Linked DNA regions of Homo sapiens: region 1 is linked to region 2. The links are contacts of gene promoters, found by promoter capture Hi-C in blood cells and fetal thymus (Javierre and others, 2016). All regions are on one chromosome and are shown on one strand. Each heading gives the region's core, a stretch centred on a gene start or on the middle of the fragment in contact. The rest is flanking DNA. Distances are from core to core; before and after follow the strand shown.

The links. The method cuts DNA at HindIII sites, captures the fragments that hold promoters and counts their contacts. A CHiCAGO score of 5 or more calls a contact.
Region 1: a fragment that was not itself captured here is called in contact with the fragment with the promoter of PTPN13 in region 2 in 1 of 17 cell types (erythroblasts); the score reaches 5.6 in erythroblasts.

What each region holds. Positions count from the first base shown.
Region 1 is chr4:87,143,842-87,149,547 of GRCh38, reverse strand. No RefSeq gene overlaps it. Among named protein-coding and RNA genes, the nearest start is that of KLHL8, 74 kb to the left of the region's middle. The HindIII fragment of the contact is 1,226 bases long and covers 1,179-2,404 here.
Region 2 is chr4:86,592,711-86,598,245 of GRCh38, reverse strand. It overlaps PTPN13 (protein tyrosine phosphatase non-receptor type 13), which reads right to left and starts at 3,931. Exons shown (of 48, transcript NM_080683.3): 1 at 3,457-3,931. It also overlaps a transcript of MAPK10 not described here. RefSeq lists an enhancer at 3,694-4,280. The HindIII fragment of the contact is 4,151 bases long and covers 2,366-5,535 here.

The DNA.
Region 1 (5,706 bases), core at 542-3,041, 550 kb before region 2:
GGTTTCTTCATGTTGGTCAGGCTGGTCTCAAACTCCTGACCTCAGGTGATCTTCCAGCCTCGGCCTCCCAAAGTGCTGGGATTATAGGTGTGAGCCACCGCGCCTGGCTGAATACTGGTTTTTAAAGAATTAACATGGAGGTTTTAAACTTACTCCAATGGTGCTGCCATCATTGCCCAAAGAAAACAACTTAGGTAGATACTGAAATTATCTAATAGGGACACATTTTTATCCTCTGTCTTTTGCAATTGTGTTTTGGAGCCAAGTCTGATGAGTTATTTATGTGGATAGTATTGTTTAACTCTTTGTAGAAAAGCAACCATAAAATAAATAGGATGTACCTATGCTTGCACATAGTTCTGAAGACAGTTTTTTTTGTTGTTGTTATTGTTGTTTTTGAGACAGAGCCTTGCTCTGTCGCCCAGGCTGGAGTACAGTGGCGCAGTCTAGGCTCACTGCAACCTTCGCTTCCCGGGTTCAAGCGATTCTCTTGCCTCAGCCTCCTGAGTAGCTGGGACTACAGGTGTGTGCCACCACATCTGGCTAATTTTTGTATTTTTAGTAGAGACAGGGTCTCACCATGTTGGCCAGGCTGGTCTCAAACCTCTGACCTCGTGATCCGCCCACCTCGGCCTCCCGAAGTGCTGGGATTACAGGCGTGAGCCACTATGCTGGGCCCTGAAGGCAGTTTTAAATAATTTTGTTGTAAATTTGTTTTGAACTGTGGTAATACATGTGAAGAAACCACCAAGATGATTTTAAAGGACAGTGGTCTTTTTAATAAGTTCTGTGTATCTTTTTAGATTTTAATACACCATCTTTAACAGGGAAATATTTGATTACCAGTATCTTTATCTCATACACTTCAGGATATCATATTTCAACTCCTTCCTTTTTTCTTACAGATGAGGAAATATAGTACCAGACATTCATGTAACTTGTGCAAGGTAAAGGATGGTAATTCAGTGCCATATTTTTTATTTCTGGTTGGCTGTTTTGCCTGGACAGTGTAAGGCAGGTGAGGGGGCCAAGGCATTCAAACTTCAGGGTCACTAGCTTCAGAATTAAAGTTTTATTCTGCCCCTATACTCTCAAACTTGGAGGACCCTGGGGGAATTTATACTCTTGCCTGTTTCAGTTACTATTTCTTATTTCCTGGGATTTTACCCATTAAAGCTTAGTTTACATTATTCATGACTTAAAAACATTTACTTTATGCTCATTTCTTGAAATGTGTGTTACACTAACATTTACTTGTGTTTTATTAAACTTTTATTTATTAATACATGTCTTCATGCAAATAAGGAAAGAAAAACTATCAATTTTAGCTGTCACTAGAGGTGCACTAGTGTCTTGACTAGTGCTGGTAAATGGAGAAAATCCACAGGGCAACATGGAAAGCAGCATTGGATGGGGTGATCCCCCATGTGCTTCTAATGATGCATTAGAAGAGTTGCTAATCACTGCAGATTTTTAGGACTTCTTTCTCAAGCTCCAGTTTATAAAGCCTCTAAGGCCTATTAACAGTCCAGTCTTATTACCTGTCTAATTGTCTATAGTACAATCCAAAAGTGGTTAAATGGTAACAGTGTTTAAGACTGGCTGCAGATTACATTAAAGCAACTTATAAAACCACATTTTCACTAGTTTATTCTCACAAGCAAAACCCCCTTCGTAACTTGAAGTCAGACAAATCTGTATCATCTGAGCTTCACCTTTTACTGGCTCCCTAACCATGGACAGATTACAGTTGTCCCTCTGTTGTTGGGTTCTGCATCTATGGATTCAACCCACTGTGAATTGCAAATAATTGAGGGCATGGGGGTGGCGAAAGGGATGGTGTTGCATCCGTTCTGAACAGGCACAGACTTTCATACTGTCATTCCCTAAACAATGTAACAACTATTTACATAGCATTTACATTTTATTAGGAATTATAAGTAATCTAGAGATGATTTAAAGTATAGGGGAGGATGTGTGTAGATTATATGAAAATACTTCACCATTTTATATCAGGGACTTCAGCATCCTTGGATTTTGGTATGGGGGAAAATCCAGGATCCAATCCCCCATGGATACCAAGGGATGACTGTACTTATCTTGGGCTCACGTGTCATCTGTAAAGCATAATGACTAATTTGAAAGAAAGATGGTTTCAAAGTACAAGCAATGGAAGGTACGTAGGGCATGTGGCTTCATATATACTTCTTTCCCCTTCTCCACAATTTTACTTTTTTAGGTCAGTGTTGTGCTATAATGACGGGAATGTATCATGGATGTAGGAAAGGGGAAAATGCTGGTTGACTCTGTTTTGCTGTGGGGAATTCCAGACAAATACATAGGTACAAGAGGAGTGCTGTCCTCCACCTGTCAGATAAACTGGCTTATGCTCTGCTCTCAAGCTTGAAATAATCTGAACAGTGGGTCCACAGGGTGCTAGTTTTAGAATAGTGACATCTGTGTTAAGAGGAATGGCTGAAAGCAGAGACAATGGCTAGTTGAATGGAAAAACACCAGGTCTCAAGTTACCTGTAACTTGGGTAGAGACATGTCATCCAGGAGCTGGGCACCCTAACCTATGCTTTAATGCCTACACACATACTGAAGCATGTAATTTTACACAAAGGAATCACTGAAACTATTGATTGGATGTGAGTAAATTTCACAAGGACAAGAAACCAGTCTCCTCTTTTTAACCTTCATTCAAGATAAGCAAATATCAGGTTAATAGGACTATAGTTAAGTTCAGGACTGACATTTGGCAAACAATTTTAGATTTGATCTCTCTAGGCCATAAAGACAATCCATGATGAAATTCATATTCATTCAGTGGGTTTCAAAACTGCCAATGTTAAACAGCTTCCACTTTATCCAGAATAAATATCATTTGCTTGGACAAGTAGTAAAAAGATATTAGTGGAGCTTCAAATGCCAAAGATCCTGAGTTGGTGACACACATAAAGTCTCACTCAAGGATTGATCATTTTTTCCTGTAGCATTTGTAAGAAGAAAGGTAAAGGTGGGAACTGTTGTAAGCAGCTCACAGGTGATACCTACTGAGGTGTAGGCAGTGGAGCAAACTCAGGAAGAGTCATGCAGTTGACTGGAGGCAATCAACCTTGTACAACCTTCTTACTCTACAAACTAGTAGGCAAAAGACAATCTCAGAAAATGAACTAAGTACAGGAATAGGCAATCCATAAAGTCACACAAATGACCAATGGACTTGTGATAAAATGGTTCACTTCATTTGTCAGATAAATGCAATTAAAGTACTGTAAGATTTGTTTTTTGCACTGCACTCACGACTGGCAAAAATGTAAGATCATCTGCAGTTGGTGGGGAAGGTAGTTTGGTAACATCAAATTTGTTTTTTTGAGACAGTCTTGGCTCTGTCGCCAGGCTGGAGTGCAATGACGCAATCTCGGCTCACTGCAACCTCCACCTCCTTGGTTCAAGTGATTCTTCTGCCTCAGCCTCCCAAGTAGCTGGGAGGACAGGTGCGTGCCACCACGCCCAGCTAATTTTTTTTTTTTTTTTTTTTTTTTGTATTTTTAGTAGAGACAGGGTTTCACCATGTTGGCCAGGATGGTCTTGATCTCTTGACCTTGTGATCCACCTGCCTCAGCCTCCCAAAGTGCTGGGATTACATGTGTGAGCCACCACACCCGGCCTGTAACATCAAAAATTTAAAATTTAGCTTATGCTTTGACCCAGACATTTCCCTTCCAGGAATTTATCCTATAGAATACTTGTAAGAATGTACAAAGATGTTGTGTACTACGATTCCTTCAGTACATTGTTGTAACCACAGAATATTGTGGGGAGGAGTGACTTGTGCCCATAATGGGAAAATGTTTAAATAAATGGTGGCATATCTTATTACATGGTACTTTGTAGCCAAAATATGCTGGACATTGAAAAAGGACTGATACACAGTGTAAAAAACAATGCACAGAAAAGTTGTAGAAAGATAGATACGCACGAACTTAATGGCCGTAGAATCTGGGGAGGAAGTACACTTGCCCTTTCACTTTTTGCTCTGTATGCCTCTATATAGTTGTCCCTTGGTATAAGTGTGGGGTTGGTTCCAGGATCCCCACAAATACCAAAATCCATGGATGCTTAAGTCCCTTTGTAAAATGGCACAATATTTGCATATAACCTCTGCACATCCTCCCATATACTATAAATCATCTCTACATTACTTTCAATACCCAATACAATAACTACACATCACTTCATTCGCGTGGATGCAACACAGTACTTGGCACATGGCAAATTCGTTTTGTCTTTTAGAACTTCGTGGGAATTTTTCACCCTGAATATTTTCTATCTCCGTTGAATCCACCAATGCAGCACCCATGGATATGGAAGGCTAACTGTAATTTGTTTTACTATTTATTTGTAAATCAGCTTAAAAATAGGATGGAAAAATTACATTCTCGTGTATATGTAAGCTTGGGAAGCTCTTTAAAACCACTCTACCAGGATCACTTGCTTCTTCCCTTGAGATTGTGAATTCCTCAGTTGCAGTCCTGGGTACCAAGTTTTACCTGCACAAGGAGTTTCTTCAAAGATTGTAGTTCAAAGATGGAAAACTAAAGGCATTTTTCTGTAGTTCATTCAGTTGAGCACGACTGGTTTTCCACATCCAGTAGTGTGAGTATTCCTAAGAAAATATGTGCTCATGCACCTTTTTTGAGAAGGGGTTGGTAGTGTTTCTTAGAGGATAATTTATAGGAATAGTTAGCAGTGAAGATATCAGAACCTGTAATTGTTTCTTCCTCCTACACATGAAATAAGGTAAATGAGATGTTAGGACTGGGCCTCCATAATAGAGAAGGGTGATTTAAAGCACTTATCCAGGGGAGGCACATGGTCTTTTTAAAGCTAAAATAGAATTGTGTGTTCAAAGAGCATTTCAAGGCCTGCCCTCAGTCTGTTGGAAGGGCAAAGTCCCTTATTATCAGAGCCTTGGTGTCTCAGTACAGTCTTGCTTTCAGCTGAGTGTGGTCTACTGGAAAACCACAAACGCTGAAAGAGTCCTGTTCCTCAGACAAAACAGACTAGACAGTACAATTATCTAATCACTACCAAAGTAACAGCAGATAAACCTCCGATTATATTCTGGTAAAGACACATGGGGCTTCAAAGTTATTTGGAATGGATTTGAGGGTTCTAAGCACCACCTAGATGACTTACTTAAAAGTAGCCTGGATTGTGACCATTTACATTCCTGACAACCCTGGCAAATAGTGAGCCAGTACCTATTCAAATAATGCAGGCTCCAAAAGTGCCTAGATACTTGCGAATACAATAACACAAAGGGAGACTACCACTTTAACCTCACAGAGTAGTTGCCAGTATTCAGTGATAGTAAAACTGCCTTGTACAGCATCTGGGAAATAGTCTGTATGCACCTTATGGAGACATCAAAAGTCGGCAAGGACACTGCCGACTTAAATTTTTTTTTTAAAGCCCAGCATAATACAAATAAAAAACTTAATTTGGAGAGAAATACTTAACAAAAGGTTAATATCCTCTAAATACATAAATCAAAAGGAAAAAGATGCATTTTTCAGCCTGGTGGATCATCTTTCTTTTCTTTACTGCTCAGCATCCCCTTCCTTATTAGCAGAACCCTTCCGAGTGGTGAACTCAATCTATATAACTGGTGAAAACAGGTTTCCCCCCATCTACCAA
Region 2 (5,535 bases), core at 2,682-5,181:
CTTGAACCCAGGATCGGGGGCAGAGGTTGCAGTGAGACAAGATTGTGCCACTGTATTCCAGCCTGGGCGAGATTCCATCTTAAAAAAAAAAAAAGCACAACAAAGCAAAAAAGCCTTGAGAAGTATATATTATTAAATTATTAAAAATAAACTTAGTCTCTAGGATTTGGATACATATTTGTCAGACAGCAGTCCTCCACACTTTTTATACTATGCAGAAGGATTTTCTTTGAGACAGTTTGTTTCAGAGAATTTTCATACTTTTCCAGTGTGAAAACAAATCAAAACAAAACAAAAATTAAAAAAGCAGGATTCAATGGCAGAGCACAGGATAAGGCAAACACATCTAAACAAGCACTTGAACCAGACCCTGTTCCTGTATTTCCCATGCATTTGATAGCAAACTCTGGGAAAAACATGTGAAGTTTATGGTTTAAATCTACACCAGCCTCTATACAAGATTATTTAGGAATTCTTCTCTTTTTATCCTAAGAAATGGCCCACCTACTGCCTTACTATTAGTGACAGTCACACATTCTTGGGAACAGGGTTGGGCAGGATAGAGCAGGGTGCTTATTCACAGTGCCTGACACTAAACAAGAATAAGGGTCTTAAAGGTGTTTTCATTTTCTTCCCAAACTCAAAGGATTATTAGAACTCCACCTCCCAAAGCAGTTTACAGACGGGAGTTTTGATGGGACATTTACAGCTAGTATGAAACTTTCAACTTTAACTTAAGCCATTAAAAGTCCTACATTAATGTACTCATTAAAAGCTATCTTTTAGCCTTGGTCAATACAGCGAGACATTGTCTCTATTTAAAAAAATAAAATAAACAAAATTAGCTAGGTGTGGTGTTGTACACCTGTGGTACCTGCTACTTTGGGGGCTGAGTTAGGAGGATTGCTTGAGCCTGGTAAGTTGAGGCAGCAGTGAGCCATGATCGAGCCACTGCATTCCAAACTGGGCAACAGAGACCCTATCTTAAAAGCTATCTTTAAAACATTTAGTTCCTAAGTTATTTGACCCATTTTAATTTTCAAATTAAAAGAGAGTTTTTCAGGGAAAAAAAAAAAAAAGGAAGCCCAGCCCAAAAGATTCTCGTCATTTCCATCAGCACTGATTCTTCTATCCTAAGGCCCATTATCTTTTCTCCTTTCTCAGGCCCCTACCTTGTAAAGTGATATTAACTCAAATGAGTCGTACTTGGTTGCATCAGAGGCAAACAGGAGAATACTTTGAACTACACAGAGTTCTCCCAAAGCATATTCCAAAACAAGAATATGTTGACAGGAGTAACTACTAAATGCACTGGCTTGGAGTATGGTTGTGTTTCTTTTTCATTTCAAATGGTGTTAATTATAATTTAATTATGCATAAAAATGTTTTGGGGTTTATTTAAAAATTACACCCTCTGTCAAAAGAAGAGGGTGAAGAGGAAAAAAAAGAAGTAATAGTTTATCCCTTACAGTCCTTCTCTCCAGTACATTTGGGGCTGGGCACTAAGATGAGCTGGAAAAATATACACCCCATTGATACGGGAGAAGCTACAACACTTCCCCATCCAATCCTTAACACATTAAAGACAGAACAAATCAACACCCGTTTTTCTCAATAACAAAGAATACATAAATTTCATTCATTTAAAGATGAACACCTATCATTTATATTATCTACTCCAAAACAAATGATTAGCTAATTCTCACATTCACATACCGTATTTAGGAGGCAGCCCTCAAAAACAACAACAAAAAGATGACCTAAGTTTTATAACGTGACCCCATCATAGAATTAAAATCTGACTTTTAAATTGACACTGGTTTTAATGGTGTGCGTGTATGTTACTTGTGACATGAAAAGCCATTTATATTTTTGGATGCTGGTAATCACCCTCCAAAATATAACTAGGCTTTACATGCAAGTAAAAATGGTGGGACAAATGCAAATTCAAAGATAAACCTACATAATGGTAAAGCAAGCTATCATTCTCTAATTGTAAAAGTGAAAAACACTATGAAATCAGTCCTTTTCTTAACAACTAACCTCAAATATTTTTCTGTTTTTAGTTCTAATTTCCATCCTATCCTCTCCCCACACATACTCCCACAAAGCCTCTAGAACATCAAGTAGAACACAATGTTATGAACAAAGTATAATAAACAAGATTGGACGTCAGTCAGTGCGCCTCTGTATAAATTTACTAAATCAATATATGTATGAATTTACTAACAAATGCTCCTAGTGATATTAAAACGAGAAATAATTTGTATATTGGCACCACTACAAGCAGCCAATGAGCATGAAGCAAGTTTTCACCTGGACCCTGCCAACACAGTCATGAAGACTTTAGGAAAATACCTAAGCTTGTTTCATAATACATGCACTTTTACTCCCCCCCCCATCCTTTAGTAAACTTTCTAGATATAAATTTTAAAATCTTAAAATTTATAATTAGTTACCAGCGCCCTTCATCCCACAGATCAGGTGTCCTACATTTTGTTCAGGTCCTGCCTTGAAAACAAACCCGATTGCCCCATTTTCTGCGAGGGAGCTCAGCTCCAGGCAGCTCCCTATGAAGTCACCGCGTTTGTTGTTTCAAAGATGCAATTAAATGAAAATGACACAAGGCTGTCGAACAGATTAGTTGGAAGTGTGCGGTGGTGTCGATCATATACGTGTATGGCCAATGAAAACTGTATTGCTGTAAATCTCTTAGTGATATTTCTCCCCATCCTCCTCTCTCCATTATATTCACAACAGAAGGAAATTAAACTTTGTAAGAATTTTCTTGACTTTGGTTTAACTTTAGCTTCCCAGCTGTCTGCTCTTACAGTATCACGTAATGAGCAAAGCGGTGGGGCTAGGGGGCCGGAGGGTAGAGTGTTAACTTTAGCAAGCAGAAGAAAAGCAATAAAAGACCTTGCATCAGACAGTGTCTCTCCCTCTGCCCCCTCTTCCTCTGCTTCCCCGCCATCCCACCCCCTTCTCGAGCCCTTACACACACATTCTTCTGGGCGGCCTCTAACCACACCATCTCCACAATCATTTGCAGAAATTAGAAACAGACTCCGGGAGCCCTTCCCTTAAGCACGCACAGAGCGGAGCTGTGCAAGCACGACGGGGCAATGTCACTCCCTATTACCCCACAATCTCTTACTCCCCCTGTGGGTTTCATTCCCGAGAATCCGGCTTTCTTCCGCAGAGGAGATGGATCTACCTAATTAGCAATGGAGTTTCATCTCATTCTTCCCCACTCCAGTCACCCCACCCCCACTCTAACGTACAAAAACACCCACCACCAAAACCAAAGAAAAGTTCCTTCTACCAGGGCAACCGAGGAGTTGGGTTTAGGGACTGGAGCGAAAGCAGAGAGAGGAGGAAGAGAACGAGCGCAATGTACTTTGTTTTGCACTTCTGCACATGCAGCGCAGAGCCCAGGGCGGCTCTCGTCCTTACCGGCTGGTCCCGAGACCGGGTCCTGCTACTGGAGCGCCGGGCGAGGGCTGCAGGGACGCGGCGTCGGGGCGGGCCGCCGGCAGCCGCCGCGGGCGCCGAGAGCCACCACCACTTCTCCCACAAGCGGCTGCGGGCGTGGGCTGAAGGAGCTGTAGAAGGAGCCTGGGGAGGGGGAGAAGAGGAGCAGCATCTCCTCCTCCTCCTCCTCGCCTCGGAAACGCTCCCCAGCGGCGATCCCGGCCGACTGCCTGACCCCCGAGCGCTCAACGCACCCCCGCCGCCCTACTGTGCTCGACGCCTCTCCAAGAGCTTCGCCAAAACCTTCTGGCGCGGGCGGCTCAACTCCTGTAGGCGACTCTGACCGCTGCCGAGGCGGACCGGGGAGCTACGGAGCACGGCTCGCCAGCACGACGGTCTCCAGGGGCCGTGAGCATGGTGTGTCACCCTCGCCTCAGCGTGGCCGCTGGAGCTACTCGCACCACTGGGGCTCCACCTCGGGCAGCCGCGCCGGCTCCGCCCCCCCGGTCCTGTCACTCAACCATTCCCCGGCACTGGGAGGACCGCAGATCTCCCACCCCGAGCTCCCCTCGACCTCATTGGCCCGCCTGGCATCCAGCTCCACCTCCTCCCTAGGGACGAGGTCGCCAGGGAGACCAGCGCCCCGGTTGCCATGACAACCAGTGCCTTGGGCCTGGCTTTTCGCGTTCTTCGGACTAGCCAGAGGCTCAGGTTGGTGACCGAGCGGCAGAGTTCCTAGCGCCTGCAGTGTGGTGAACTCCAACTTTTAGGCCAAGTTGAAAATGCAGCCGACGACCCCCACACTTCTAACTTCAGAATCAAAACTATGACCCTAGGGAGTGAGGAGGAGAGTGAAAAATGCGTAAGTGCTGGCTCCTCCCTTACTCTTCGCTGCCTCTCAGCCTTGTTTCTATATTCTCACGGGGCGCTTTGGTCTTTGAAAGGAAGAGGAGAATGGGGGAGAGGAAGAGCATGGCTTTGCCAGCTCCTTGCAGCAATATAGCAACTTAGAAATGGCGGGGTCAACGAAAAAAGCCCGGTGAGTTTTCCCACGGTTGTAAAGCTATCTTCAAAAGTGTGGTGACAGCACAACGCCAAATGCCCTAGGGAAAACTGAAATTCTCATATTTTTGAAAAAAGTTTGTAAATACTTGCCTTGTTATTTTATCTATGAGACTAAAATAATCCCGAAGTTTGAAAATTTAAGGAAAAGGTTTAACATAGTCGATAACCTCCCACTTTTCTATATACACTGAAATTTGGCCAAGGTATATCCAGACAGCTGTACCCCTCCTTGCTGCAAGCCGAAATATTTGAGTTTCAATAGTTAAACAAGAGAGTCTTGCTGAATTCATGAACAAATAATATCCTGTGATTTGAGTTTTGAAAGTTTTGGGTTATTCTCAGAGGTATAAGGTAAACTGGTCCACTCTGGAAAGGGTACCTGAAGATAAATTTAGTCTGAGACCCTTAATGTTGAGCCCTAGGTAAATCTGAATTTCATGGCTGGCTCCAAAGTGGAGAGATCTGAGGCTTATTTGGCTTCCCCAAAAAAAGTCAAAGCAGCAATCCTAGGTTCCCTAGCCCCTGAGGCTGCCATACATGTATGATGAATGAGGGAATTAATAGTAATGATTTATCTTTGGCGAGCACTTGAGTTTTCATTATATCATTTACTAAATGAATAACTATGATAGATATCTTCAGTCAAATATGCCTTACAAGTATGCATTGAATGTGATTACTCATAGGGCTAAACACAACGGAAAATACACAGCAGGATTTTAAGCTAAGTCCCCGCTCCCAAGGAGCTAACCTGGAGCCTAAGAAAGAAAACTAGCACTCTTGAAACAATTTGAGAACAATTATAGCTAAAATGTGCAGCCAAACTTTGAGTAGGTAGCAGCTAAGAGAAAGTTTGCTATGTAAAATGGGCTGGATTCCTCAGTTTATGGAAGAGGGGAATTTACACTGGGCTTTGATGAATGCAGCAAAGATGAGGAAAGTCAGTTGAGGGGAACAACAAAAACTAAACAGCAGCAGCAGGGATAAGTGGTGAAA